Linked DNA regions of Homo sapiens: regions 1, 2, 3, 4, 5 and 7 are each linked to region 6. The links are contacts of gene promoters, found by promoter capture Hi-C in blood cells and fetal thymus (Javierre and others, 2016). All regions are on one chromosome and are shown on one strand. The core of a region is centred on a gene start or on the middle of the fragment in contact, and the rest is flanking DNA. Distances in the headings are between cores, read along the strand shown. Region 1 overlaps DNAJC11 (DnaJ heat shock protein family (Hsp40) member C11). Region 2 holds the start of PLEKHG5 (pleckstrin homology and RhoGEF domain containing G5). Region 3 overlaps NPHP4 (nephrocystin 4). Region 4 overlaps ZBTB48 (zinc finger and BTB domain containing 48). Region 5 overlaps NOL9 (nucleolar protein 9). Region 6 holds the start of RPL22 (ribosomal protein L22). Region 7 holds the start of TNFRSF25 (TNF receptor superfamily member 25).

Evidence for each region. The method cuts DNA at HindIII sites, captures the fragments that hold promoters and counts their contacts. A CHiCAGO score of 5 or more calls a contact.
Region 1: a fragment that was not itself captured here is called in contact with the fragment with the promoter of RPL22 in region 6 in 2 of 17 cell types (total CD8 T cells and activated CD4 T cells); the score reaches 6.5 in total CD8 T cells.
Region 2: a contact is called between a fragment that was not itself captured here and the fragment with the promoter of RPL22 in region 6, in 1 of 17 cell types (fetal thymus). The highest score is 5.9, in fetal thymus.
Region 3: a fragment that was not itself captured here is called in contact with the fragment with the promoter of RPL22 in region 6 in 1 of 17 cell types (total B cells); the score reaches 5.1 in total B cells.
Region 4: a fragment that was not itself captured here is called in contact with the fragment with the promoter of RPL22 in region 6 in 2 of 17 cell types (activated CD4 T cells and M1 macrophages); the score reaches 5.7 in activated CD4 T cells.
Region 5: a contact is called between a fragment that was not itself captured here and the fragment with the promoter of RPL22 in region 6, in 1 of 17 cell types (activated CD4 T cells). The highest score is 6.2, in activated CD4 T cells.
Region 7: the fragment with the promoter of TNFRSF25 here is called in contact with the fragment with the promoter of RPL22 in region 6 in 10 of 17 cell types (activated CD4 T cells, naive CD4 T cells, erythroblasts and 7 more); the score reaches 11.3 in activated CD4 T cells.

The regions. Positions count from the first base shown.
Region 1 is chr1:6,667,911-6,671,896 of GRCh38, forward strand. The region is part of intron 3 of DNAJC11 (DnaJ heat shock protein family (Hsp40) member C11); the gene reads right to left. Among named protein-coding and RNA genes, the nearest start is that of DNAJC11, 32 kb to the right of the region's middle. The HindIII fragment of the contact is 409 bases long and covers 2,319-2,727 here.
Region 2 is chr1:6,491,017-6,494,851 of GRCh38, forward strand. It overlaps PLEKHG5 (pleckstrin homology and RhoGEF domain containing G5), which reads right to left and starts at 651. Exons shown (of 21, transcript NM_020631.6): 1 at 621-651. The HindIII fragment of the contact is 2,289 bases long and covers 269-2,557 here.
Region 3 is chr1:5,940,783-5,944,750 of GRCh38, forward strand. The region is part of intron 9 of NPHP4 (nephrocystin 4); the gene reads right to left. Among named protein-coding and RNA genes, the nearest start is that of NPHP4, 50 kb to the right of the region's middle. RefSeq lists an enhancer at 3,184-3,684. The HindIII fragment of the contact is 5,858 bases long and covers 1-3,968 here.
Region 4 is chr1:6,586,900-6,590,784 of GRCh38, forward strand. ZBTB48 (zinc finger and BTB domain containing 48) reads left to right here. Exons shown (of 11, transcript NM_005341.4): 6 at 306-392; 7 at 579-733; 8 at 1,161-1,297; 9 at 1,379-1,543; 10 at 1,857-1,945; 11 at 2,017-2,381. The coding sequence ends at 2,313. It overlaps KLHL21 (kelch like family member 21), which reads right to left. Exons shown (of 4, transcript NM_014851.4): 4 at 3,825-3,885. Among named protein-coding and RNA genes, the nearest start is that of ZBTB48, 8.8 kb to the left of the region's middle. The HindIII fragment of the contact is 2,081 bases long and covers 632-2,712 here.
Region 5 is chr1:6,534,956-6,538,887 of GRCh38, forward strand. The region is part of intron 6 of NOL9 (nucleolar protein 9); the gene reads right to left. Among named protein-coding and RNA genes, the nearest start is that of NOL9, 18 kb to the right of the region's middle. The HindIII fragment of the contact is 844 bases long and covers 1,505-2,348 here.
Region 6 is chr1:6,197,905-6,201,582 of GRCh38, forward strand. It overlaps RPL22 (ribosomal protein L22), which reads right to left and starts at 1,691. Exons shown (of 4, transcript NM_000983.4): 1 at 1,658-1,691. The coding sequence starts at 1,669. RefSeq lists a silencer at 1,443-1,582. The HindIII fragment of the contact is 15,793 bases long and covers 571-3,678 here.
Region 7 is chr1:6,464,634-6,468,154 of GRCh38, forward strand. It overlaps TNFRSF25 (TNF receptor superfamily member 25), which reads right to left and starts at 1,540. Exons shown (of 10, transcript NM_003790.3): 1 at 1,436-1,540; 2 at 807-927; 3 at 455-589; 4 at 1-86. The coding sequence starts at 1,474. It overlaps PLEKHG5 (pleckstrin homology and RhoGEF domain containing G5), which reads right to left. Exons shown (of 21, transcript NM_020631.6): 20 at 3,192-3,521; 21 at 2,489-2,939. The coding sequence ends at 2,930. RefSeq lists an enhancer at 1,361-2,309. The HindIII fragment of the contact is 14,059 bases long and covers 1-3,521 here.

The DNA.
Region 1 (3,986 bases), core at 1,273-3,772, 470 kb after region 6:
CTGGGGTCCGGCCACAGCCTTTCCTCAGGAAGGACCCCAAACCATGAGTTCCACCATCCGATGGCTCAGGCCTGGGTGAGGGAGAGCTCACTGCCCTCCTGGCCCTTCCCAAGGTTGAAATGAGTTTTCACTCAGCTCTCCAGAGTGACTTAAACATTCTTTATTTTAGCAACTTATCTCTGAGGCTGCAGAAATCTTACAAGGAAAATGTCACCTTATGAATTTCTTTCTTTTTTTTCTTTTTTGAGACGGAGTCTCGCTCTGTCGCCCAAGCTGAAGTGCCGTGCATTATCTCAGCTCACTGCAAGCTCCGCCTCCTGGGTTAACACCATTCTCCTGCCTCAGCCTCCTGAGTAGCTGGGACTACAGGCGCCCGCCACCACCCCTGGCTAATTTTTTTTTGTATTTTTAGTAGAGACAGGGTTTCACCATGTTACCCAGGATGGTCTCAATCTCCTGACCTCGTGATCCACCCACCTCGGCCTCCGGAAGTGCTGGGATTACAGGCTTGAGCCACTGCGCCGGCCTACCTTAAATTTCATAGTGTAAATTTCCTAATGAATCTCAGATAACAAATGTTAAATATCAAGACGAAGGCAAGCTGGCTCTCCCTAGTGGTCTGAGACAATCGCTAGAGACTCCTTTTGAGCTTCTTGGACCAAGGATCTCGAGCTGTCGGGTCTAGGTGTTTTTATTCTGTTGTTGTAGAAACGGGGTCTTGCTATATTGCCCAGGTTGGCCTCAAACTCTTGGCCTCAAAGGATCCTCCCACATCAGCCTCCCAAAGTGCTGGGATTGCAGGCACGAGCCACCATGTCTGGTGGGTCTGAGTGTTTTCAGAATCATGGGACTCTTCTTCTTATAACAGTATATGAACCTTAGAATGTGGGCTGTCAGTTATAGGCTGGCGTAACAATACTCAGGTACCACACAGCAGACCTCATTAAACTCGGGGACGCAGAGTAATGTCGAGTCTGAGAAAATAAGGTATTCCGGCCTGGCGCGGTGGCTCACGCCTGTAATCCCAGCACTTTGGGAGGCAGAGGTGAGGGGATCACCTCAGGTCAGGAGTTCAAGACCAACCTGGCCAACATGGCGAAACACCATCTCTACTAAAAATACAAAAATTAGTCAGATGTGGTGGCAGGTGCCTGTAATCCCAGCTACTTGGGAGGCTGAGGCAGGAAAATTGCTTGAACCCAGGAGGTGAAGGTTGCAGTGAGCTGAGATCATGCCACTGCACTCCAACCTGGGTAACAGAGCAAGACTCTCTCTTAAAAAAAAAAAGAAAAAGAAAAAGGAAAATAAGGTATTCGAGGCCTAGCGCAGTGACTCACACCTGTAATCCCAGCACTTTGGGAGGCCGAGGCGGGTGGATCACCTGAGGTCAGGAGTTTGAGATCAGCCTGGCCAACATGGTGAAACCCTGTCTCTACTAAAAATACAAAACATTAGCTGGGCGTGGTGGCAGGTGCCTGTAATCCCAGCTACTTGGGAGGTTGAGGCAGAAGAATCACTTGAACCCGGCAGGCGGAGTTTGCAGTGAGCCAAGATCACGCCATTGCACTCCAGCCTGGGCAACATGAGCAAGAAACTCTGTCTTAGAAAAGAAAAGAAAAGAAAAGAAAAGAAAAGAAAAGAAAAGAAAAGAAAAGAAAAGAAAAGAAGGCATTTCAATTCCAGTTCAGCCCTTCTTAGCTCGTCATGAAAGGAAGACCATCTAGTTGACATTTCAAAGAAGTGGAAAGGCCACCGTGAAAGAGGCAACCGCACTGCACGATTTCTAAGGGTCCTGTTTATGGTGTGAAATTGTGTGCACCGGTGAGAAACACACAGTGTGGGAACAGGACAGAAACAGTGGTTACTCTTTTTCTATCACGACCAAAGTTATCAGATGGATGGGGGAGGGGGCAGGGGTATACGAAAGCAGATTCTGCCCATCCATGGGAGAAACACAGGGGAGTCTTGAGTTGCTGCTCACAGACTATCTAAAAAGGTGTGATGTGAGAAAAAGTTTCCTTGGAAATTTCACGTTTCAAAAAATAATTTTTTTTTTTTTTTGAGACGGAGTCTTGCTTTGTCGCCCAGGCTGGAGTGCGGTGGTGCGATCTCAGCTCACTGCAAGCTCCGCCTCCCTGGTTCACACCATTCTCCTGCTTCAGCCTCCCAAGTAGCTGGGACAACAGGTGTGCGGCACCACGCCTGGTTAATTTTTTTTTTGTATTTTTTAGTAGAGACGGGGTTTCACCATGTTAGCCAGGATGGTCTTGCTCTCCTGACCTCGTGATCCGCCCGCCCAGATTATTTTTTAAAATACAAGCTTATAGCAAAAAATCAATAGAACAGAAGGATAGGAAATAAAAAGTATGCGATTCCCCTTACCCATATTCCCTCTTCTCATGGGCTCACACTCATCTCACAGGCTCACACTCAATTTTTTTTGTATCTCTTCCTAAAAATTCTCTATGCATGCTTATGTACCTACGTATGTGCGCATATGCACGTGCACACACACATACACACATTCAATATAAATAAGATATTACAGGCTTTGTGCAACTTGATTTTATTTTTCAACAAATAAAAAAAAATACAAAAACGCATCCAAAAAATCCTAGGAACTCGTCCACTACTTTAAACATTAAAAATATTGAAAACATTTTCTTCTCTAATAACCCAATATAAATCAATAATTACTAAAAAGGGGGAAGTGGTTCTTTTTAAGGAAGCTTTAAAATAAAAAGATTGTTAAAATCATCCAAGAACAAACTAAAGGTCCTAAGTGGCATGACAGTGATTGCTCTGTGACCTCGCAAGGGCATTCTGGGTTCTATTTCGTGAACAAGATGCGTTCCCGCTGCCCAGGCTTAAAATCATCGAGGGTGCGTCACCTATCTACAGCACTCTCACTTGCCAATACCACCCATCCTGACATAGACAAAAGCAAGGTACAATTTTTCAAAGTTTCCATTATCTTCTCAATCTCATGTCAGCCCCTCCCTGCATCGAAAGAAAATAAAAATGAAAGAGCTTCAGGGAAATGTAGGTAATCAACTATTCCATTAAGTTTGAAGATCCAGAAAATATGCTTTAAAATACTTTAAAAATTATTCATGACTTTACAGCCCAATTCAGTGGACCTGACTGTGGAGCCACAGTTTCTCTGGACTCAGTGGATGGTGACCATCCCAAGGACAAGGAGGTCTAAGTGTGAGGCTGTCTGAATGCAGACAGTTCCTCTACATAGCTCAGAGGATGCAGGATGTTCCAATCTGGATAAAGAGATTTGATTTGACTTGATTTGATTTATTTATTTATTTGAGACAGAGTCTTGCTCAATTTATTTATTTGAGACAGAGTCTCGCTCTGTTGCCCAGGCTGGAGTGTAGTGGTGCGATCTCGGCTCACTGCAAGCTCCGCCTCCCGGGTTCACACCATTCTCCTGCCTTAGCCTCCTGAGTAGCTGGGACTACAGGCATCTGCCACCACGCCCGGCTAATTTTTTTTAGTAGAGACGGGGTTTCACCGTATTAGCCAGGATGGTCTTGATCTCCTGACCTCATGATCCGCCTGCCTTGGCCTCCCAAAGTGCTGGAATTAGAGGCGTGAGCCACTGCGCCTGGCCATTTTTTTTTTTTTGAGATGGAGTCTCACTCTGTCATCCAGGCTGGAGTGCAATGGTGCAATCTCAGCTCACTGCAAGCTCCGCCTCATGGGTTCATGCCATTCTTCTGCCTCAGTCTCCCGAGTAGCTGGGACTACAGGCATCCGCCACCACGCCCGGCTAATTTTTTTGTATTTTTAGTACAGACTGGGTTTCACAGTATTAGCCAGGATGGTCTTGTTCTCCTGACCTCGTGATCTGCCTGTCTTGGCCTCCCAAAGTGGCGTGAGCCACTGCGCCCAGCGATATTTTATTTTATTTTAATATTTTATTTTTTTGAGACAGAGTCTTGCTTTGTCACCTAGACTGGAGTGCAGCGATG
Region 2 (3,835 bases), core at 163-2,662, 290 kb after region 6:
CTATTGTAAAAAGCTGGATTCTGATCTGCGGCCTCCGCGGTGCCCCAGAAACAGCCCGCTTTTCTCTGGGCCCCCTCTTTTTTTTTTTTCTGGCCCAGGTGATATGGCCGGAAAAGGGTGCTGTTCTGCCATTTAGTGGTTCCCAGTTCCCCTCTCCCAGCAGCGGGAGTTTAGAATAACTCTGGGCTCAGGACTGGGAAGGGTGTGGATACAGGGGGCCCACTCGAGGAGGTGGAGTTCAGGTCCACCAACCTGTTCCGCACTTTCAAGCTTTTTATACAGCCTTCCCCCGACCCCTTCCCAGGCCAAAACCTCCAGACTGCCCCACACAACCCTTGGGGCTGGGCCTATACTAGGGCAGCTCCTGGCTGGGCCAGGGATCCCCACGTCTTCACCTGCTCCCCCAAAACTACTTAGCCAAAACCCAGGAGTCCCCTTGCATTGTTTCTCTGGCCCTGCCCGTTTCTTCAGCTGCAGATAGCCCCACCACCTCTCTCCGGGGACCAGTCACTTCCAGAGATGGCCCAAACCTGGCCATTCCCTGGGGCATCCTGGTCTGCCGCTGCTCACCCCCAAAGCATTGCCCAGGAGAATAGGTGATTGCCTCTCCCATTACTCACATCCTGCCCGTCCCTTCTCCATGGGGGCCTCAGGTCCACCCTTTCCTCTCCCTGGTCTTCATCTCACCACCCCTCCCTCCACACACGCATACCCTGACTCATCCCTGCCACCTCACAGGCCATTGTTAAGCTGCAAGGGAACTCTGAAGTCCTCCCATCCAACCTCCACTCCACACTGCAATCCCCTCTACGCTTCCCTTTCTGTCTCTTCTTGCATATGTCTAGTGATGGGGTGCTCACTACCTCCACTTCGGGGATAGCTCCAGCTGCTGGAAACTCTTTCCTGTAGTGTGCTGAACCCCACCTCCCTGTCAAGGCCTTTGGGAGCTGTGCAGAAAAATTCACCTCCCTTTCCTCCTGAGAGTTCTGAGGAAATGGGAGGCTCTGACAGAGAGGCCTGGTTTGAGTCCTGATCTTGCCTTGCTTGGCAAGTCATTTTACCTCGCCACTCTGCAGGGCCCTCTCTAGGAAACGGAGATGGGGTAGGCCCCACCGCAGCGGGGGAGGCGGCCAGATGAGGTTTCTGTGCCAGGCGCTAAGGCAGGGCCTGGCATACAGTACGTGCTGGATCAATGGCGGCTGCTGGAATCACTACCTCCTCCATGATAAACACCCTCACATGTGGTGCCCAATGTCCCCTGTGGCCCAGGGCCACAAGTGTCCTCCTCCATGCCCCCTTGTGACCTGGGACGCCCTGACTAGACCTCGAACAGTGCCCAGTGGAGCCCAGCAAGGAGCTGGGGAGTCCACACACTGTCCCGTGGCCACCTCACAGGAGGGCAGGGGGAACCCACAATATCATTAGTCTGCCTTGATCTCCCGGCCTTTCTCCATCTCCCCAAACTCACAGCTCCACCTGTGTGCAAGAAGCTGGGATGGAGCCTGGGGAGGTCTCAGATCCCAGGGCAGGTACGGAGGGCACACCCAAAGTCTAGAGGTGACTTTGTTACCCCCACTCCCAGGACACCTTGCACACCTACGCTGTGCTAGGCTCTATGCTAAGCATGTTATATATGGGCCTCTTTTAATCCTCGCTGCCGGGTTATTTTCCAGATGAGGAACCTGGGGTTCAGAGAAGTGTAGTGACTTCCCCAGGGTCGCACAGCTGGAAAAAAGTAGGTTTGATCCTGGAGCTCAGAGGTGTGGACTGCTCTACATATCTTCATCCTGGGGAGGGGCCATTTCTCTCCTGGGGTCTCCATGACACACAGTCCAGACCCCTCATCTGGACATGCAGGTGCTCCTAGTGCAGCCTGCCTCCCCCTCCTCCCGTCCCCTTCTCCCTGTGCCCCCTGGCCTCGCTTGCCCCTTATAGCCCCCAATGTCCCCCCCTGCTCACTCAGCTGTCCTCCATCTCAGTACCTCTTTAATCCTCAGGACTCCAGTTGCCTCCAGGAAGCCCATCCTGGTTAGCCCTCCTCCCAGTGGGAACTCCAGGGGCAGGAGGTAGGGGACAGATGGCAAATTCATCTCAGAAGCTCCAGCACCCAGGAGAGCCTCAAATAAAACATCAAGGGTGGGCCCAGAAGCCGAAGGGTCCAGCCCTGCCTGAAATTGGTCCTTTGCCAGGGCAGCCTGGGGGGAAGTTTGGCCAGCCAGGGTCACTTCCCTTCCTTCCTCCCAGCACAGCTAGAATGTCACCTCCAGGAGGGCATCCCCTTTGTTCTCTGGAGATCTCCTGGGCCTAGAACTGGGCCTGGCACCGACAGATGCTCAGAGCTGGTCTGGTAAATGAATAAATGAAGTCATCTCCTTCAAAACGCTAGTCACATCCTGGAGAGTAAGAATAGGGCTCTTGATCAGACAAGCCTCACGCAGGCCAGGCTCTGACGATCATGCTGTGTGATGTGGGCAAGTTCCTCTACCTCTCTGGGCCTCCGTTTCCTTACAAGTCATGTGGTCATAAGAATAACGCTGTTCTCCTGAGGGTCTCAAGAAGCTTCACTGAGACAAGCAGGAGGGCCTAACGCCCCGCCTGGCATGTAAACATGTTCGGTCAGCAATAATTGTTATTATTATTATTATTGGGTGTTTTTTGAGACAGAGTCTCGCTCTGTTGCCCAGGCTGGAGTGCAATTGCGTGATCTCAGCTCACTGCAACCTCCTTCTCCAGGGTCCAAGCGATTCTTCTGCCTCAGCCTCCTAAGTAGCTGGGATTACAGGTGTGTGCCACCATGTCCGGCTAATTATTTTTTATATTTTTGGTAGAGATGGGGTTTCACCATGTTGCCCAGACTAGTCTCGAACTCCTGACCTCAAGTGATCTGCCCACCTTGGCCTCCCAAAGTGCTGGGATTACAGGCATGAGCCCCTGCGCCTGGCCTGTTATTTTTGAGACAGGGTCTTGCTCTGTTGCCCAGGCTGCAGTGCAGTGGCACAATCACGGCTCACTGCAGCCTCAATGTCCCAGGCTCAAATGATCCTCCCACCTCACCCTCCCCAGTAGCTGGAATTACAGGTACCCACCACCACACCTGGCTAATTTTTTTTTTTTTTTTTTTTTTTTTTTTTTAGACGGAGTCTTGCTCTTGTTGCCCAGGCTGGAGTGCAATGGCATGATCTCAGTTCACTGCAACCTCTGCCTCCCAGGTTCAGGCAATTCTCCTGCCTCAGCCTCCCGAGTAGCTGGAATTACAGGCACCCACCACCATGCCCAGCTAATTTTTATATTTATAGTAGAGATGGGGTTTCGCCATGTTGGCCAGGCTGGTCTCGAACTCCTGAGCTCAGGCAATCTGCCCGCCTTGGCCTCCCAAAGTGCTGGGGTTACAGGTGTGAGCCACCACGCCAGGCCTTTTTTTTAATTTTAGTAGAGAGAGGTCTCCCTATATTGCCCAGGTTGGCCTCAAACTCCTGGGCTAAAGCAGTCCTCCTGCCTCAGCCTCTCACAGTGCTGGGATCGCAGGTATGAGCAACCACACCCAGCCAGTAGTGGTTATTATTATCATCATCGACAATGTTATTCTTTGTTTCTCTTACCAAATCTGAGTGCCCCGCACCTCCTCTCCACCACTGCCTCTCCCTTCCTGGACTGCCCTTGCCTCTGTTCTGTCTATCCATGTTTTCACATCCATTAAAGGCCCCCTCCTCCAGGATGCCCTCCCTGACTGGCTCTCTATGCCTCTGATAATTCAGGCATTTCTGCCCCTACAGTGAGTCTGTGCCATTTGTCCCAAAGGGCGTCCCAGTAGTGACAGGGCCCAGACTCTCCCCGT
Region 3 (3,968 bases), core at 1,441-3,940, 260 kb before region 6:
TGAAAGACACAAAAATAGACTTGAACAAATGGAAAGACATCCTGTTCTTGGTTAGGGCAACTAAACATCCTTGAGATGTAAAATTCTCTCTAAATTCAATCATAAATTTACTGCAATCCCAATTTTTAAAATGCCAATCAGCATTTTTTGGAGCTAGACCTCTTGATACAAAAGTTAATCCAGAAAATAAACATGCAAGAAAAGCTAGAAAAGCAAGGAAAAGAAGAACCATAAAGCTGAACTTGCCTTACCAAATGCTAAAACACACAACAGAGCCTCCAAAATTAAAACAGTATGGCCATGGTACATTAACAGACAGGGCAGCCCATGAGAGTAAAAGTCCAAAAACAGATGCACTATCCATAAAGACAGAGTATGTGATAAAGACAGCACATTAAGTCACCATGGCAAAGGGGGACTTCTGAGTAAGTGGTAGTGGGACCAGATGGCCACTGGGAAAAGATAAAATCAGATCCATCCCTCACACCACAAACAAGAGATCTAGACAAAAAAAAAAAAAAAAAAAAAAAAAGGGCAGGAGAAACATTGCACGAGGAGAAAATATGGGTGAATTCCTCTATGACTGGGGAACGAAGAAAGGCTTTTTCCCTGACTCAAAATCCAGATACAATAAAAGAAAGAACTTATATATCTGACTACATTAAAAGATGTTTTAATGTTTACACAGCCAGGAAAAAAAATAAAAAGATAAATGACAAAATGAGGAGAAAATATCTGCACTATTTATCACAGATAAAGAGCAAATATCCTTAACATACAAAGAACTTTTAATATTTGATGAAAAATGCAAAAACTACAGAAAAATGGGCAAAATAAGTAGAGATGAAGATGAGCCTGAAGCATCTTCTGAAGCCAGAAAGTACTCAAACACAAAACAGGACGAAGGATGCCATAGGACACAGGGGCCAGCCTCAAGGACTCCATCCGGCCAAATCTGGGACAATTTGTACCAAAATAATCAGAAGCAGTGACTTTGAAAACAGGGATCCCTGAGTCCAGACCCATGTGCGCTTGATGGACAAGTCAACCATCTACCCACCAGTGAGGAGACAGGGGGCCCTGGGGACAGGAGGTGCCATGCCAGCTGCAGGTCTGTGGGAAAGCTGGGCTGGGGCTCCTCCTCCTGCAGGAAGCATAAACGACGCCAACCCAAGGGGGACAATCGGATGAGGAGCAGATACCCACGTGGTCTCAGAGTCTCCCCACAGATCACTTATTAGCTGCATGGAGGAAAAAAGGTAACTCTACAGTGGAGATATCAGCAAAGATCACCACAACCAACCTCGCCCAGGATGAACACATGCACGTCTGGATGTGGGACCCAAGGACTGCCCCTTGCTCACACGGACCACTACCAGGAAGGCACAACCTGACTCCAACTATGAGGAAGCATCAGATGAACCCAAGCAACATACGCATTAAAAATTTTTTAAAGAAGGGAGACTAGGCCATGCACAGTGGCTCATGCCTGTAATCCCAGCACTTTGGAAGGCCAAGGCGGGTGGATCACAAGGTCAGGATATCGAGACCATCCTGGCTAACATGGTAAAACCCCATCTCTACTAAAAATACAAAAAATTAGCCGGGCGTGGTGGCAGGCACCTGTAGTCCCAGCTACTCAGGAGGCTGAGGCAGGAGAATCGCTTGAACTCAGGAGGCGGAGGTTGCAGTGAGCCGAGGTCGCGCCACTGCACTCCAGCCTGGGCAACAGAGCGAGACTCCATCTCAAAAAAAAAAAAAAAAAAAAAGGAGACTAAAATATTAAAAATAAAATCATAAATGACAAAAAAAAAAAAAAAAAGCTGAGGAACTGTTCCAGAATTAAGGAGGTCAAAGAGACACAGAAACCAGACACAAGACATGATCCTGAACTGGACACGGTACTGGAGGAAAGGCCATCAGGGACACACATGGATCAGTTCAACAGACCCTGGAACATGGGCCATTGATTTTGTTCCAAGAATATGAGTTAATACATAAACAATAAATCAGGCAAATCTTCACCCCTTAGAGATTTGGGGAGAGGGTTATTTTGTCATGTGACCCACAGAAAAGGACTGTATTCACCCCCAGAGGCTCAGGAGGATGCCCGCTTATTCAGACATGAAACGCAGCCAAGACACCGGATCTGGTGATTTTTGCAGGTTTGCCCCTGTTGCATTTCATGCTCATGTTACAGGGAGTTTGCTCCATCACTCATTCAGTCAGCAAACATTTCTGGAGCCCACACTTGCATGCATAAGACATTTCAAAAGAGGCAGTGCTGTGGCAGTCAAATGAGGTTGCACTGTCCCCAGGATCCTGGGAAGAAAGTGGTCTGGACAGGAGGGACTACTTCTTTGGTAGTTTCTTTAGCTTCTTCACAGCTAACCCAAACATAAATTACAGGAAAAAGGTTTTAGATGCTTTGGTTAACTAAAAAATGCAAAAAAATTAACAGCAGATTAAAGTCAGTGAGTGTGTCTTGGCAAAACTTTTGTTCCTAGTTTGTTTCCAATGACTACAAAATACTCAGGACCCAAAGAATACATGCAGACTCCAGTGCCTGGGTGTGCCCTGAACACAGTATTTGTTCCATGTTCTCATCAGCCCAGGTAGCCTCCTCGTCTGTGCATACCATTTACAGATGAATCCTTCCACAAAGGGCCCCTAGACACCATAGCTTTTGCCTCCTGATCTGATGCATGAGGCCAAGTGAAGCAGCTGCCAAAAGCCTGGTGCATTTTGGCTCTCCCAGCATTACGAATGTGTGATGAAGGCAGCAGGGCCACAGGGAGAGCAGATCCTCCAGTCAAAGGCAACATGAGGAAGCCACTGCCAGGGAACAACAGACAGGCCGCCCAGCTCATGCAGGAAGACGGCTGTCACAAGTCACTTTCCAGGGAAAAGCACATTGCTGGGGTTTGTCCGTTTCTTATTAAGTAAAATACTTAAAAAATGTACACCCAGGCTGACTGGATGTTTGATGATACTAAGAAATGCAGTCAAGGTTAGGTGTGATGATGGTGTTCACAGTGACACTCCAGAGCCCTGTCTTTTGGAGAGACATGGTGAGCCATCTGTAGATGAAAGGATGCAATGTCTAGGATGCGGTCTCCAATAGCCCAGGTGGAACGGGACGGGAGAAAGAGATGAGACATGAGCGATAAATTGGGGGTTGGAGGTGGGTGCAGGGAGCGCACCACATGCTTCTCCACTGTTAGCTTTGAAATTTCCCAAAATAAAAAAGTTTTTAAAAAAAAAAGAAATGTTCATGCCAAAAGGTTTACAGATGAAATAAAATGATGCCTGGAATTTGTTTCAGAATAATTCAAAACGGGTTGTGGGAGAGGACATAGAAGAAGCAGATTGTCCAGGAAGCTGGCAGCCGGGGAAGCTCCGTGGGGCCCATCGCACCAGCCAGCCTGTTTTCAGCTGTGCTTACAGCTTCCACCACGCAGGGTCCTCACCAAAGACAAGGAGGAGGACGCTGCAGCCGGAAGGCACAACCACACCCAGCTGAAAAAATCCCCACCCAGCTGAAGAAGGCTGCTCTGGGAGACACTGCTGCAGACGGGGTGGCTGAGGTGGGAGGGCCCTGCCACAGCCCGCCCTGGGCCTTCCAAGGAGCGCGCTGGGCTCCTCTACCACAGCCACCGTCACAGACGGCCCCGCCATTGTGCCTTTCTCCTCTCACGTCCCGCTCAATTCCAGTTTCACCCGGTGGATGCTTAACCCACTTCCAATGGTTCCGCACAGGAAGCAATTTTTGTGTGGAAGGTCATTTCACACACTGCAACATTTCCATTCCAGATTTCACCCAGGAAAGCGCACTTGATGACAGTAAAGTGGAATCCAGTATTCCCAGTTACAATCGACCAGCACATCGGAAAGTACCAATGACTGGCCGGGCGCGGTGGTTCACGTCTGGAACCTGAGCACTTTGGGAGGCCAAGGAGGGCAGATCA
Region 4 (3,885 bases), core at 422-2,921, 390 kb after region 6:
CCTGCCTTCCCTGCCTTCCCTGCCTTTCCAGTGCCCCCTTATCTAGGCAGGGCTACTGTCTGCAGCCTCACCTCCAAGGTCCTTATTAGGCCCTTGTTTCTTTCCATGGAGGACAGGCTTGGCATCCTCTGGGCAGCTGAGCCCTGAGGGCCCTCCTTTGCACCATCCTTCACACCAGATCAGGGGTCCTCCCAGAATCATCTCACCGGGGCCTCCCTCTAGTTCCTGCCCTATAGCCCAAGGGTGGGTGGCAGGGTTTCATGGGTGCAGGCCGCCCTGGAGGTGACTGTGGGCCTCTTTTTCAGTGTTCCTCCTGCTCCCAGCAGTTCATGCAGAAGAAGGACTTGCAGAGCCACATGATCAAACTTCATGGAGCCCCCAAGCCCCATGCAGTAAGTGACAGGGAGGGCTGGGCATGCTTTGATGCTGGCATGAGCAAGAGTGAGCTGTGCCCAGAGTGGGCAGCCGGCCATGTACTTTCTGTTGTTCGGGGGGGTGCTTGTGGGTCTCCCAGGCAGCCCTTCCCTGCTCTCACCCTGGCCCTGGTCCCTCCCTCTGCCTGCCTGGTCTGCCTGCAGTGCCCCACCTGTGCCAAGTGCTTCCTGTCTCGGACAGAGCTGCAGCTGCATGAAGCTTTCAAGCACCGTGGTGAGAAGCTGTTTGTGTGTGAGGAGTGTGGGCACCGGGCCTCGAGCCGGAATGGCCTGCAGATGCACATCAAGGCCAAGCACAGGTGCGTGTCGCCCGTTCTCTCTTGGGGCCCAGTCCTGCTGCCAGCCCAGGCTTGCACCGGCAGGGAAGACAGAGTTTGCTGACTTTTACACAGATGAGTGTGCCCTTGGCCTCCACCCTGAATCTAGTGCCTACAGCCTCTCTGGGATAGTGGGACCTGAGGGGCAAGCAGCTATGCCAGGCAGAGAGGCTGGGGGCAGATGTTTCAGGCTCAGACAAGCCTCTGTGCCCCCGGGGCAGATTCTGAGCTTCCTTAGTTTCCTGTGACTCCTGCTCATAGATTGTCCTTCTGCTCTCGGGGTGGAGGTGGTGCCCCTTTCCTAGCACTGCCCAAGCCCTCTTTCCACCAGGCATGCTCCTAGCTGTAGCAGAGCAAGGGGGTCACTTCCCTTGGTGATGGCCTCTGCCCCATGTCCCCACCTTAACAGGAATGAGAGGCCACACGTATGTGAGTTCTGCAGCCACGCCTTCACCCAAAAGGCCAATCTCAACATGCACCTGCGCACACACACGGGTGAGAAGCCCTTCCAGTGCCACCTCTGTGGCAAGACCTTCCGAACCCAAGGTGAGGTACGCCCTGCCCCTCCCCTCGCCTCCCCATCCTGAGGCCAAGGCCACAGGCTGAGCTCTTGCCTTGTGCCTGCAGCCAGCCTGGACAAGCACAACCGCACCCACACCGGGGAAAGGCCCTTCAGTTGCGAGTTCTGTGAACAGCGCTTCACTGAGAAGGGGCCCCTCCTGAGGCACGTGGCCAGCCGCCATCAGGAGGGCCGGCCCCACTTCTGCCAGATATGCGGCAAGACCTTCAAAGGTACCTGGGCGGCCCTGGGAGAGCCATTTCCTGCTCATCCGAGTTGGAGGGTCTCTGAGGAGGAAACGCTCCTTTCTTGCCTGTGAACCTCTTTTGTGCCCCACATGGTTAGAGTTGAGAGTGGACCTGCTTTGAAGGCAGGGGTGTCCTGTGCAGTAGTGACCCTGGGTGGCACTGGAGAGCCTGGCAGGGCCTGTGCAGCACTTGTAAACCACTGGTCCCCTCCCTTGCTGCCTGTCCCAACCTCCTGCTGGGTTTCCTCGAGGGTCCCGGGGCTCCTGCATGATCCCCCACGGTGTTCTCCCTCTTGCAGCCGTGGAGCAACTGCGTGTGCACGTCAGACGGCACAAGGGGGTGAGGAAGTTTGAGTGCACCGAGTGTGGCTACAAGTTTACCCGACAGGTAGGCCAGGGCCTGGGCCCCTTCCCCTACCCTAGGATCCCCCAAAGTTCTGAGCTCACCCTCCCCGCCAGGCCCACCTGCGGAGGCACATGGAGATCCACGACCGGGTAGAGAACTACAACCCGCGGCAGCGCAAGCTCCGCAACCTGATCATCGAGGACGAGAAGATGGTGGTGGTGGCGCTGCAGCCGCCTGCAGAGCTGGAGGTGGGCTCGGCGGAGGTCATTGTGGAGTCCCTGGCCCAGGGCGGCCTGGCCTCCCAGCTCCCCGGCCAGAGACTGTGTGCAGAGGAGAGCTTCACCGGCCCAGGTGTCCTGGAGCCCTCCCTCATCATCACAGCTGCTGTCCCCGAGGACTGTGACACATAGCCCATTCTGGCCACCAGAGCCCACTTGGCCCCACCCCTCAATAAACCGTGTGGCTTTGGACTCTCGTATTTCAGCCTGACAGTCTGTTCCCGTGTCCTGGAGTTGGGGAAGTGCTGCCTTCCCACCCACGCCTTCAGGAGAGAGTAGTGCCCTGCCCGGTCCTATGTGGGCCTCAGCTCAGCTGGCAGCTTCCCCTCCTGTCAGGAAACCTCAGCTGAGCGAGGCTTGGATGGGGTTCCTTTGGGGGCCAAACCTCTGGCCTTGGCTGCTCTCCACATCTGTATTCTGTTCCTCATTACTGCAGGATTTTAGAGTGGGGAACGCTGGCCAGTTAGAGCACCAGTATTCCTATTTTAGAGCTGAGGTGATACCGGCTTCTGGAGATAGAATTCATTACTAAGCTTCTGGAGTTCAGTAGAGTGATCAGGGCCCACGGGGCTGGCCTTGTTGGGCAGAATCAAGGATTGGGCCCAGTTAGTGTAGCTGAGCACGCCTGGGGGTCTGAGGAGGGTGGGGCCCTTCCTTCAAGCAGCCTGGTCTGTGTCCAGGAGGCTTTGGTCCCCACGTTCTATAGCTGTGGGGTACTGTGTGGCAAGGAGCAAATGCACGTGGGCCTTAGAGCAGATTGCTGTTGTTTAAATTTCTTCCCAACTAAGTTGGCCCTGGGTAAGTTACTGACAGCTTCATTTCTCTACTGAAAATACAAAATTGCTGGGTGTGGTGGTGCATCAGGAGGCTGAGGCACGAGAATCCCTTGAACCCAGGAGGCGAAGGATGTAGGGAGCCGAGATTGCACCACTGCATTCCAACCTAGGCAACAGAATGAGACCTTGTCTTTAAAAAACAACAACAAAAAAAAGAGGCCCACTGTGGTCTCAACACTGCTCTCCTTCCCAGCCGAGACACTGGCCTCTCCCTCAGGTTCAGATGGACTCTGCAGATAGGAAAAACATCTTGAGCCAGACGGCTTGTGTGGATTCACAGCCTGGTTTGGGACTGTATTTGAAGGGCTCCACCTCCCCAGGTCCAAGGGCCATCTCATCGCAGATGGGAGTCTCATCACCACCTGTATGTACCGCAATCTCAAGAAGGGCTGTGGGAGCCGGGCCCGGGCAGAGGACCAACAGGCAAAGACCAGCTTTGGAGCAGGCAGGTTTCCTGGGCATCATCTGTTCCACAGCATTTACTTCTCAGGCCTCTCTCTTTAAATGGAGACAAGGTCTTCCCGTATTGCTCAGGGTGGTCTTGAACCCCTGGGCTCAAGTGATCCTCCCTCTTCAGCCTCCCAAAGCACTGGGATTGCAGGTGTGAGCCACCACACCCAGCCTCTGGGGCATGTCTTTTCCAACGCTTCATCACTTGCTACAATCTGAGATGAGAAAGGGCCTGGAAGGCTGTTTAAGACCCTCAGTGTGAACCCTGGGCTCCATGCTGCCTGTTCCCCTGACATCTGTCCTCAGCCCAAGAGTCCCAGAAGACAGTAGCAGGAGGACAAAGGCAATGACTCCAAATGGATAGGAAATACTTTTATTGCAAAAAGTACTGAAGGTACCCTAAAACCTTAAGCAGGAT
Region 5 (3,932 bases), core at 677-3,176, 340 kb after region 6:
ACCACACCTGGCTAATTTTTGGACTTTTTTAGTAGAGATGAGGTTTTGTTATGTTGGCCAAGTAAGTTGGTCTCAAACTCCTGACCTCAAGTGATCCGCCTGCCTCGGCCTGCCACAGTGCTAGGATTACAGGCATGAAGCACCGTGCCTGGTTTTAATGAGACAGATAGAAAAGGTATCTACAGAAGTACAGATCTATATGCATACATACACATATACATATGTATGTTTGGGTTTAAATATGCAATATATGCTAGCTCTGTGCACTGAGGGGATCTAGAAACAATAACACACCAGAGGCAACAAGCGTGCACAGTACTGAAACTCTGGTTTCAATCTCTCTCCATGAAAAGGAGCCAGGGCTCTCTGGAAAAATAGCTCATTCCAAGGCTATGGAAGAGAAAGTGAAAGATGACCCCAGAACTTCCTGTTTTTCCTGAAAGTTAAGACAGTGCTCAAAAAAGGATGGAGCCATGGAGTAGCCAGGGTCAGTACAGCTGGAGAGCCCAGGCCAAGGGTGCAGTCAGGACCTAGGACGTAAGAGGAGCTCAGTAGACAGACAGGTCCTAGGAGGTGGCCGGCAGGGCAGAGCGGCTGCTTATACATAGGGATATTGTACACATAAATTAATGTGTTCAGAATAATGAGAGCCAAGTTTTCTTGTTTTTGTTTATTTTTAAGACAGGGTCAGCTGGGCATGGTGGCTTACACCTATAATTCTAGCACTTTGGGAGGCCAAGGCAGGTGGATCACCTGAGGTCGGGAGTTCGAGACCAGCCTGGCCAACATGGTGAAACCCCACCTCTACTAAAAATACAAAAAATTAGCCAGGCATGGTGGCGGGTGCCTGTAATCCCAGCTACTTGGGAGGCTGAGGCAGGTGAATTGCTTGAACCCAGGAGGCACAGGTTGCAGTGAGCCGAGATCGTGCTATTGCACTCCAGCCTGGGCAGCAAGAGCGAAACTCCATCTCAAAAAAAAAAAAAAAGTTGGAGGTATCACATTCTCTGACTTCAAAAGCAGTTATAATTAAAAGAGCATGGTCCAGACCGGGCTACAAAGTGAGACACTGCCTCTACAAATAATTGTTCAAAAATTAGCCAGGTGTGGGCCGGGTGCGGTAGCTCACGCCTGTAATCCTAGCACTTTAGGAGGCTGAGGCGGATGGATCACCAGGTCAGGAGATCGAGACCATCCTGGCTAAAGTGGTGAAACCCCATCTCTACTAAAAATGCAAAAAATTAGCCGGGCGTGGTGGCAGGCACCTGTGGTCCCAGCTACTCGGGAGGCTGAGGCAGGAGAATGGCGTGAACCCAGGAGGCGGAGCTTGCAGTGAGCCGAGATCACGCCACTGCACTCCTGCCTGGGTGACAGAGCGAGACTCCGTCTCAAATAAAATAAAATAAAATAAAATAAAAAAATAAAAGTTAGACAGGTGTGGTGGCTAATAATAGCTGTCATCCTACCTACTCAAAGTGAGGTAGGAGGATCCCTTCAGCCCAGAAGCTTGAGGTTGCAGTAAGCTATGATCACACCACTGTACTCCAGCCTCAGTGACAGACTGAGATCCTGTCTCAAAGGAAAAAATAAGGCCAGGTGCAGTGGCTCACACTTGTAATCTCAGGACTGTGGGAGGCTTAGGTGGGAGGATCACTTGAGCTCCGGAGTTTGAGAGCAGCTTGGGCAACATAGGGAGACCCTGTTTCTACAAAGTCTAAAAAAAATGGAGTTAGGCTTGGTGGTGCATACCTGTTTTCCCAGCTACCTGCAAGGCTAGCCTGAGCTCAGAAGGTGGAGGATGCAGTGAGCTGTGATTACGCCACTGTACTCCAGCCTGTGTGACAGAGCAAGACCCGGTCTCAATAAATAAATAAATATTTTTAAATTAATTTTTAAGTAAAACAGCATGGCAGGATCAGGCATGGTGGCTCTGCCATCTCCGTGCTTTGGGAAGCTAAGGCAGATCACCTGATTCCAGGAATCCAAGGCTGCGGTGAGCTATGATTGTGCTAATTAATGCACTCCAGCCTGGGTGACAGAGTGAGACACTGTCTCTCTCAAAAACCAAGCACGGTAATGGCATAAAAAAAGACATATCACCCAATGGAACAGCATAGAAAGCCTGGAAATAAACACTGCATTTACAGCCAATTGACTTCTGACAAAGGTGCTAATAACAAAACAAGGGGGAAGGACAGTCTTCAATAAATAAGGCCGGGAAATCTGGTTATCCACGGGGAGAAGAAGGATACTAGATATCCTTATCAAACACCATATACAAAAATCAACTCAAAATGGAATAAAGACTTAAGTATTAAGACCTGAAACTGTAAACCTACTAGAGGAAAAGCTTCATGACACTGGTCTAGGTAACAATTTTTTGGATATGACCCCGAAAACAAAGGTTAACAACAGACAAATGAGATGGCATCAAACTAAAAAGCTTCTGCATAACAAAGGAAAAAATTCCAAAGAGACAACCCTCAGAATGGGAGAAAACATCTGTAAATCATCCATCTGATAAAGAGTTAATATCCAAAATATGTAAGGAACACAAGAAACTCAACAGCAAGAAAACAAATAACCCAACTGAAAAATGGGTAAGGCACTTGTACTGACTTCAAAACTTACCGAAAAGCTATAGTAATTAAAACAATATGATACTGGGTCAAGGACAGACATGTACACTGATGAAACAGAAACGGAACCAGGAAATAAGCCCATACATATAAGATCAAACAATCTTCAAGATAGTCTTTTCAACAAATGGTGGTGGAAAATCTCAATATCTATATTCAAAAGAAAGAAGCTGGACCAATTCCTTACACTATATGAAAATATTAATTCAAAATGGATCAAAAACCTAAACTTAAGAGTAAAAACTGGGCTGGGTGCGGTGGCTCACACCTGTAATCCCAGCACTTTGGAGAGGCCGAGGCAGGTGGATCATGAGGTCAGGAGATTGAGACCATCCTGGCTAACACGGTGAAACCCCGTCTGCACTCCAGCCTGGGCGACAAAGCAAGACTCCATCTCAAAAAAAAAAAAAAAAAAAAAAAAGAGTAAAAACTGAACAAACAAATTCAGGCTGAAAAATTTAAAAATAAAAAAATTTAAAAAGTTAAAAACTATAAAGCTCTTACAAGAAAACATTAGAGACAATCATGATGACATTGGATTTAGTAATGATTTCAAGGATGTAACACCAAAAGCATAGGCAACAAGTGAAAAAATAGATACACTGAACTTCATCAAAATTAAGAACTGTGCATCAAAGGTTATTGTCAAGAAAGCAAAAAAACAACCTACAGAACAGGAGAAAACATTTGCAGATTGTACATCTCATAAAGGATTAATATAAAGAACTACTATTAATACGAAGAACTACTAAACTCAACAAAAAGTAACAATCCAATTCAAAAACATGCAGGCTGGGACCGGATGCCGTGGCTCACGCCTGTAATCCAGGCACTTTAGGAGGCCAAGCAGGTGGATCACCTGAGGTCAGGAGTTCGAGACCAGCCTGGCCAACATGGTGAAACCCCATCTCTACTAAAAATACAAAAATTAGCTGGGCATGGTGGCGGGCATCTATAATCCCAGCTACTCGGGAGGCTGAGGCAGGAGAATCACTTGAACCCAGGAAGCGGAGGTTGCAGTGAACTGAGATCACACTACTTCACTCCAGCCTCGGCACTCCGTCTCAAAAAGGAAAACAAACAGACAAAAAACAAAAAAACAAGCAGGCTGGGTGTGGTGGCTCATGCCTGTAATCCCAGCATTTTGGGATGCTGAGGCAGGTGGATCGCCTGAGGCCAGGAGTTCGAGACCAGCCTGGCCAATGTGGTGAAACCCTATCTCTACTAAAAATACAAAAATTAGCCAGGCGTGGTGTAGTTCCAGCTACTTGGGAGGCTGAGGCAGGAGAACTG
Region 6 (3,678 bases), core at 441-2,940:
ATCACTGCCTGAGTGCCAGAGGTATAATGGGGCAGATGCTGCTGTACAAGCTTGGGGCCTGGGGTCATGCCCTTTTGATGGGGAAATCATTCTAGCACTCTTGACTCACTCAAACTTTCCAGTCTCCCCAATCTCTACAGGCATGAAGGTCTCTTAGTTTATGAACCACAATAAAATGAACACTTCCTTTTGTTTGCCCTAACATTCCCAATTTCAAAAAAATACTATTTTTCCAAAATTAGAGTGCAGGCATACAAAATGCCTTGCATACCCACAATTTTCATATGAAATCAATCCTTGTCCTACATGTTCAGAGTAGGGTCCTGATCCGTCTTAGCTCATCTCCCTTAATCCTGTCTCATCCACCTTCTCATGAAGGGAGTTGCAAAGTATTCTAGGTGCCTGTCCACTCCAGCTTGGACAAGGTTAAGGCTAAAACCTAGAATCTTATTACAACACTACCGTCAAGAACTTCTGACATTTTGATTCGCTTCATCTATGCATTAGTACTTCCAAACCACCCGGCAAAGCACATCCTACAAGGTTCCAGTTTCTTCACTCTTACGAAGAAGCTTGTGTTAATCTTATCTCTCTACAAACTTGACACCATTAATGCACTTGTGCATCGTACCAACCTGTACTTTCACGTTTAAAAGCTCTGCAGAACTAAATAGACTTTTCCAAAAACACATCTTACCTCCCTTCATGTTTAAAAGAACTTCATCTAAAACTTGTGTTAACTGGATCAACTTTTCAAACATTTGGCCACTACAAAAATCACTGATTTATTTTTTACAACGTCTCTTCGCAGTAATAATCTAAGAGGGGTACTTTAAGATCTATTCCGAACACACACAATCAATCAAGAGACCTACCCACAACGGGCTTGATACTTCTCCATCAAGGTTTTAAACCAAAAGGCATTCAAAAGCCCAACCAGACAGAAAGAGCAGAAGAACCGGAAATGTTAACCAGGGAGTCCCAACAAAAGAGGAAAAGTAGGATCTTGGGACGAAGAACACGGAAAAACAACTTTCTCAAATAACCTAGGAGGAGGGCGCCGCACAGCCCAGTCCCAGCATAGCTAAAGGAGAATGCAATGAGAGCCTTCTCCCTACACCACTGCAACACCCGTTTGGGTCTGTACAGTGCGCCCTGATAAACTAATTTCCTCTGGGGACGCTAAAAAGCTCCTCAAACCCAGGCCTCCTCTCCGAAAGCACGCCGACCAAGCCGCCCTTCCGCGGATTCGTCCCCGAGTCTTGGCCGTGGACTTCCGAATGCGCGGCTCCCCAGGGTAGCAGGTCCCGTTCTTCTTCCCCGCCCTCCACCCAGGTAATCAGGCCCCCGGCCGGGGTCCGAGGACCAGTGGCCGGCCCAGACCGCAGTCTCCAGGCTCCAGCTCCCCGCTAGCCCCTAGCTGGGGCCCCGGGCCTCCGAGACCTCCCGGATCTCCCTCACGAGCCTCGGGCCGCGGCCTCCTCCGCCTACAACGTGCTGGGATCGGCAGGGGCTCTGGCCCGCTCCGGCCGACCTGCCAGCCCACCCCAGCAGGACGCTGCAGGGCGCCGTCCCCAGCGAGCCTGGGTAGATGCCGGGCTCGGCGAGGCCCACGTGCCTCCCCTGGAGCCGAGGCCTCACGCGGAGCCATACTAACCACAGGAGCCATGGCGGCAGCGGAGTTAGAAAGGGAGGTGAGCGAACTACGCAGACGCAAAGAGCCCGCAGCGCGCAAGGCACGCAGGGTCCAGGCCGCACTAATCACTTTGCCACGCCCCTCGTCCGCCACCTTTTCTCTTGGTTATGTACGATAGGGGAGCGATTGGTTTTTCCTGAATGCAAAACGCGTCCTCTCCCAGGCCTGGAGGGTTTCTGGGGAAGGAAGGAGGCCCGGCGGGCTGTCCCACTGCGAACGATCGGAGGGGGGAAGCCAGACTGGACGAGCCCAAAGATAAATAAAGGGGTTGGCTTTACTTTTTGAAAGTCTTGGGAAGAAAAAAGAAATAAGGAAATTCACTATACTGTAAATTACCAGCTAGTGGGATGGAAATCGAATCTACTAATTTGGGGAAGTGGGAAAATTCCTTGTAGCCACCGGGAAATTTCGTTCAGAGGTCCCAATGCCAGACCACTATGGCTTCCTCAAAAAGCCCCAGCTTGGAAGCTCATGCCCAGGGGCTGTCTCCCAGTGCCTGTCCTTTTTGCTGTAGCCAGGCCGCCCCCTCGCTGATCACCACTCCCTAGTTTCCCAGCCCAAGCCTTCTAGTTTCCCATCCCAAACCAGTAAGTAGTTGAGGACCACCAGGAGATCTGGAAAATGCAGATTCCAATTCCAGCGGTCTCAGTGGCCTGAAATTCTGCATTTCTCACAAGCTCTCAGACGATGCTGATGCTGCGAGTCCATGGACCGCATGTGGAGAAGCAAAGGTCCTCATCCCCAGGCCCACAGGTCCCTTGAACTGGGCTACTTTGCACCCAGTCACCCGCTGCGTCCTCACGGAATTATATTCCAGGATCCTGAATTGTAAATCACTCAGTGGCACACACACTCTCCACTCCCTTTACCTGGCTTCAGTGTACTCACCTAGCAAAAGTCCAATCACCAGAAGAGACTGTGCTGATGGGTCTAGCTTTCAACTCAGGCCTCAAGCCGGTTGACCAAGCTCCAAAGCCAGCTGCTGTTCTTGGCTCTATAATGATCAGGCTGGGCCTCTGCAAACACTTCTGCTTTCCAGCTGATCCCGGTTTGGCTCTATCAATAGGGGGCTTTGCTTCCTGCTTGCTCCTGTCCTGTCTGGTGTCATCCACTCTTGCTTCTTTATCCTGGAGGTGGCAGTTGGAACATTCTGGAAGCAGCAGTGGAATCCAGTCTGCACTTATTCCAACATTTGCAGAACCAGCCTCGTTTTCTCCTCAGAGACACCAGCCCTAGCAGAGCAGCACCCTCTCCTCAGATGTCTGAGTTTCACCTCCCTGTGCCCCTCCTCAAGCATCTACATTTTAATAATACCACCTACCAGTGGTAGCTACTTCCTGCAGTTGCTACTGTTAGTATTATACCCCGACAGTTACCTAAACACATCTTTATACCTAGTTAACAATCCTTTATATTAAATTCTCTCAGTTAAAAACTATAATGTGTTGTCTTTTGACTGGACCCTGGCTGATAACGGACCCTAAGCGAGCCCTCAGGGCTACTGACAATCCTAAATCTCTCCCCCAAGGGACTATTTCCCTTTCTTGTTGTTTTTAATAGAGACAGGGTCTTGCTCTGTCACCAAGGCTGGAGTGCAGTGGTGTGATCATAGCTTACTGCAGCCTCAAACTCCTGGGCTCAAGTGATCCTCCCACCTTGGCCTCCCAAATTGCTGGGATTACAGGCATAAGGCACTGCACCTGGCCCAAAAGACTATTTCACACCTCAGTCATAATGCCAGCCCCTTCTTCCTAAACCTCCCTCTCAGCAGTTGACTTTTATTGTTCTTTCCTTTTTCTTTCTTTTTTTTTTTTTTTTTTCTGAGACAGGCTCTCGCTCTGTTGCCCAGGCTGGAGTGCAGTGGTGCGAATACGGCTCACTGAAGCCTTGACATCCTAGGCTCCAGCAATCCTCCCACCTCAGCCTCCTGAGTAGCTAGGACCACAGGTGTGCACCACCATGCCCAGCTGCATGTTTTTTTG
Region 7 (3,521 bases), core at 290-2,789, 270 kb after region 6:
GACCTGGCACTCCACAAACCAGCCTGGCTTACAGCCACAGCGGGTGTCGGCCACTGCTGAACAGTTCTCCAGCGCCACCTGGGAGGCTGGTGGGGGTGCAGGGAGATGGGGAGTGGAGAGTTAGTCAGGGCCAAAGGCTCCCATGGAGAGGCAGAGGCATTATCCCAAGATAATGGAGACAGAAATAGGCGAAAGACAGACAGGTACAGGGCTACCCTAAAAAAGAGAGAAGCTCAGAGATTAAGGCCGACCAGAGGCCAAGGCACATGGAGAGATGGGAAGGTCACCAGGAAGAGAGAAGGGGCAAGGGCACCCTGAAGGAGGATCAGGGTGGAGGGTTCTGGCAAGGGTGGGTGCAGGACCCTCACACCCCAAGTTTGGGCCCGAGCCAGCCACTTCCTTCAGAAAGGCCTGTCCTTAGGAACTCCCTGCCAAGCACTGAGAAGCCCCTCACCCTGCTCATCACAGGCCTGGCAGCGGGCACATTCAGAATTATGGTGGTTCTCCCAGGCCAAGAAGGTGTCTTGGGGACACACAAGGCAGGTGGAGTTGCCGCAGGGCTCCGTGCAAGGGGCCTTCAGGTAGTGCCCTGTGGAACCAGGCAGGGGTCAGGCAGGCAGAGGGGCTGCCCAGCAACCCCCGACCTGCTTCCCACCCTGCCCTCCCTCCCTCTTTCTCTCCAGCTCCCTACTTCTCTGTCAGCCTACCCCTACCTCCCCTGCCAGCCTCCTCTTACCTCCCGGGCCTGCCCGCCACCTCTCCAGCCCTGCCTGCCCCATGCCTCTCCCACCCCTGTGGCCACTTACCCGCTGGGCAGCCTCTGCAACAAAACAGACCAATCTTCTTGTGGAAGTCACCGGCACAGTCACACCTGGGGCTACGAGTGCCGCCCTGGGCCCGGGCCCCCAGCAGCACCAGGAGGAGCGCCTGGGGGACAGGTGCTGCTGACTCTCAGCGCAGCTGCCCACGTGGGGCCTCTCCCTGCTGCGTCTCCTCCATTTCAGAGGCCCCAGCATTTGCCCACAGAGCAGCCCACTTCCCAGGCCCCGGGCAGAAGGGGTGCCCATGGGTGGAGAGGAAACTAACTTCCTTCCCCCCGCGCACACACCAGGCTTCGGAGGGGGCGCTTACCAGCCCCTCACAAGTTTCCCCTCCACCAGAGCAGGAATCCAGCAGCGCCCCCACCCCCACCCATGCTTTCTGTTGGGGGAGGGACACTGATAATGCTCTGCCTGGGGCCCCCAGACCCTCCTGGGAGGGGTTTCCTCTCAGTGGAAGGGCTACGCCCTGGAGGAGCCTTTAACGAGATCGGAAAGGGCGGCCAACCCAGCCCCCAGTGAGGCTTGGAGTGGAGACGCGCCCGGGGCCCCTTCCTTCACCGAGGCTCTTGGGACAGGGCTCAAAGCTGCCCCTAGCCTCCTGCGTCTCAACTCACCGCCGCCACCGCCGCGCAGCCCCGCGGCCGCTGCTCCATAGCCCTCCGACGGGCGCCCAGGGGCTTCCCGGCTCCGTGCTCTCTGCCCGTCGTGGTTCCGCCTTCAGCCCCGCGCCCGCAGGGCCCGCCCCGCGCCGTCGAGAAGGGCCCGCCTGGCGGGCGGGGGGAGGCGGGGCCGCCCGAGCCCAACCGAGTCCGACCAGGTGCCCCCTCTGCTCGGCCTAGACCTGAGCTCATTAGGCGGCAGCGGACAGGCCAAGTAGAACACGCGAAGCGCTGGGCTGCCTGCTGCGACCAGGGGCACAGGATAGAGCTGCATCTCGGTCCCCACCCCGACTCTCGCCCCAACCCTGAGAACCACTTCAAGGTAGAGCCAGGGCAAGTGACTTCTCTCTCGGCCTCCGCGTCCCCAGCCATGGAGGAGGTTGGGCCAAAAGTACCGCAAGGGGCCAAGCGCAGTAGCTCAGGCCTGTAATTCTAGCACTATGGGAGGCAGAGGCGGGCGGAACACTTGGGGTCAGGAGTTCGAGACCAGCCTGACCAATATGGTGAAATGCCGTCTCTACTTAAAATACAAAAACTAGCCCGGCGTGGTGGTGCACACCTGCAGTTCCAGCTACTAGAGTGGCTGGGGCAGGAGAATCGTTTGAACCCGGGAGGCAGAGGTTGCAGTGAGCCGACATCACACCACTGCACTCCAACCTAGGTGACAGAGTGAGACTCTGTATTAAAAAAAAAAAAAAAGTTCCTGAAGGGACCCCCATGGAGGACCCACCTTCCCAAGAGGGCTGGCCTGAGTGTGGGAACTGGGCAGATTCAGCCCTGAATCCCCGGGGGGCACCTGGGGAGAGGCTCTGATGGTGGCTGAAGGTGGGGAAGTCTGGGGGTGTTGGTCTGGTGGCACCCCACACCCCATTACTTCCCAGTGCTTCCCATGGCAAGCTCCATCCGTGGCCCATCCGTGGCAAGTGGAGGAGCACAGGAACACAAGGAGGCCGCCCTGAACTCAAGTGCCCCGAGTCACTGGGCCCCAAAGCAAAGGACTCTTCCCAGTGGAGTCTAGACAAGTCTTTATAAAAGAACCAAAAGCTCAATAAATACGTAACTTCACAGAACCCAGCCCAAGCCAGGGGTGGCCTGTGGGACTGGGAAGGTGGGGGCAGGGCAGGAGTGAATCCCACTGGAGGCCAGTGAGGGTAGAAGTAGGATGGGCAGCCTAGGAGCCCAGCCCTGAAGACTCGAGCTGAGCTGGTAACTTCGGGGAGTAGGTGACGAGGGGCTGCCTGGGCAGGTGGGGTGGTACTGTGGCCTGGGCCTCCTCCACTCCATCCAGTCCGGCAAAGCGCAAATCGGGCCCGGGCGTAGGCAGGGATCCTGCCCAGCATCCGGCTCATGCATACAGGAGGCAGTAGCTGAAGCAGGTGCCGGCACGCCCCAGGAGGCAGGCTGTCTGCTGTCTCTTGGTCAATGGCACTCTTGGGGGCCTCCCTCTGCTCAGACCTCCCTACAGGGTGGGGAGGGGACAGAGTCCTTCTTTGGCTGACGCCATTCAGAGTGGCTCTGGTCACCCTCTCTTCCCCACGGCACTCCTCAGGCCCCTTCACTGCTGCCCACCACAGCCCCCTGCGCCCAGACACTGGGCAGGGTTCAGGCTCCCTCCGCCATGACCCTCCCCAAATGCGATGCTCCCAGGCATGAGTGGGCCCCCATGCCAGTGCCCTGAGCCACCTGCCCTACCCCAGTCCAGGCCACTCACGAGGCAGTGAGCGTGGAGTTAAGCAGCAGGGTGGTCCTGATTCGGTAGAGCTGGGCCAGGGTCAGCTTCCTGTGCTGGGCAGAGACCCCTGGTGGGGGCTCAGGCTGGACCCTGGGAGAGGCCCCCGAGGGCAGGTCTCCACACCTCTTCCTGTGGGAGCCTGCAGGTTCCCCGGCCAGGCAGCCGACTAGCCCAGGACCGCTGCCAGGGCTAGGGGCCCCTCGGCAATCCCAGCTGGGCCCAGCTTCCTGAGGGGAGCCCTGAGTCCTAATACCTGGGGCTGGAACAGCCAGGCAGAGCTCTGACAGGCTGCGGCTGGGGGCAGAGGGT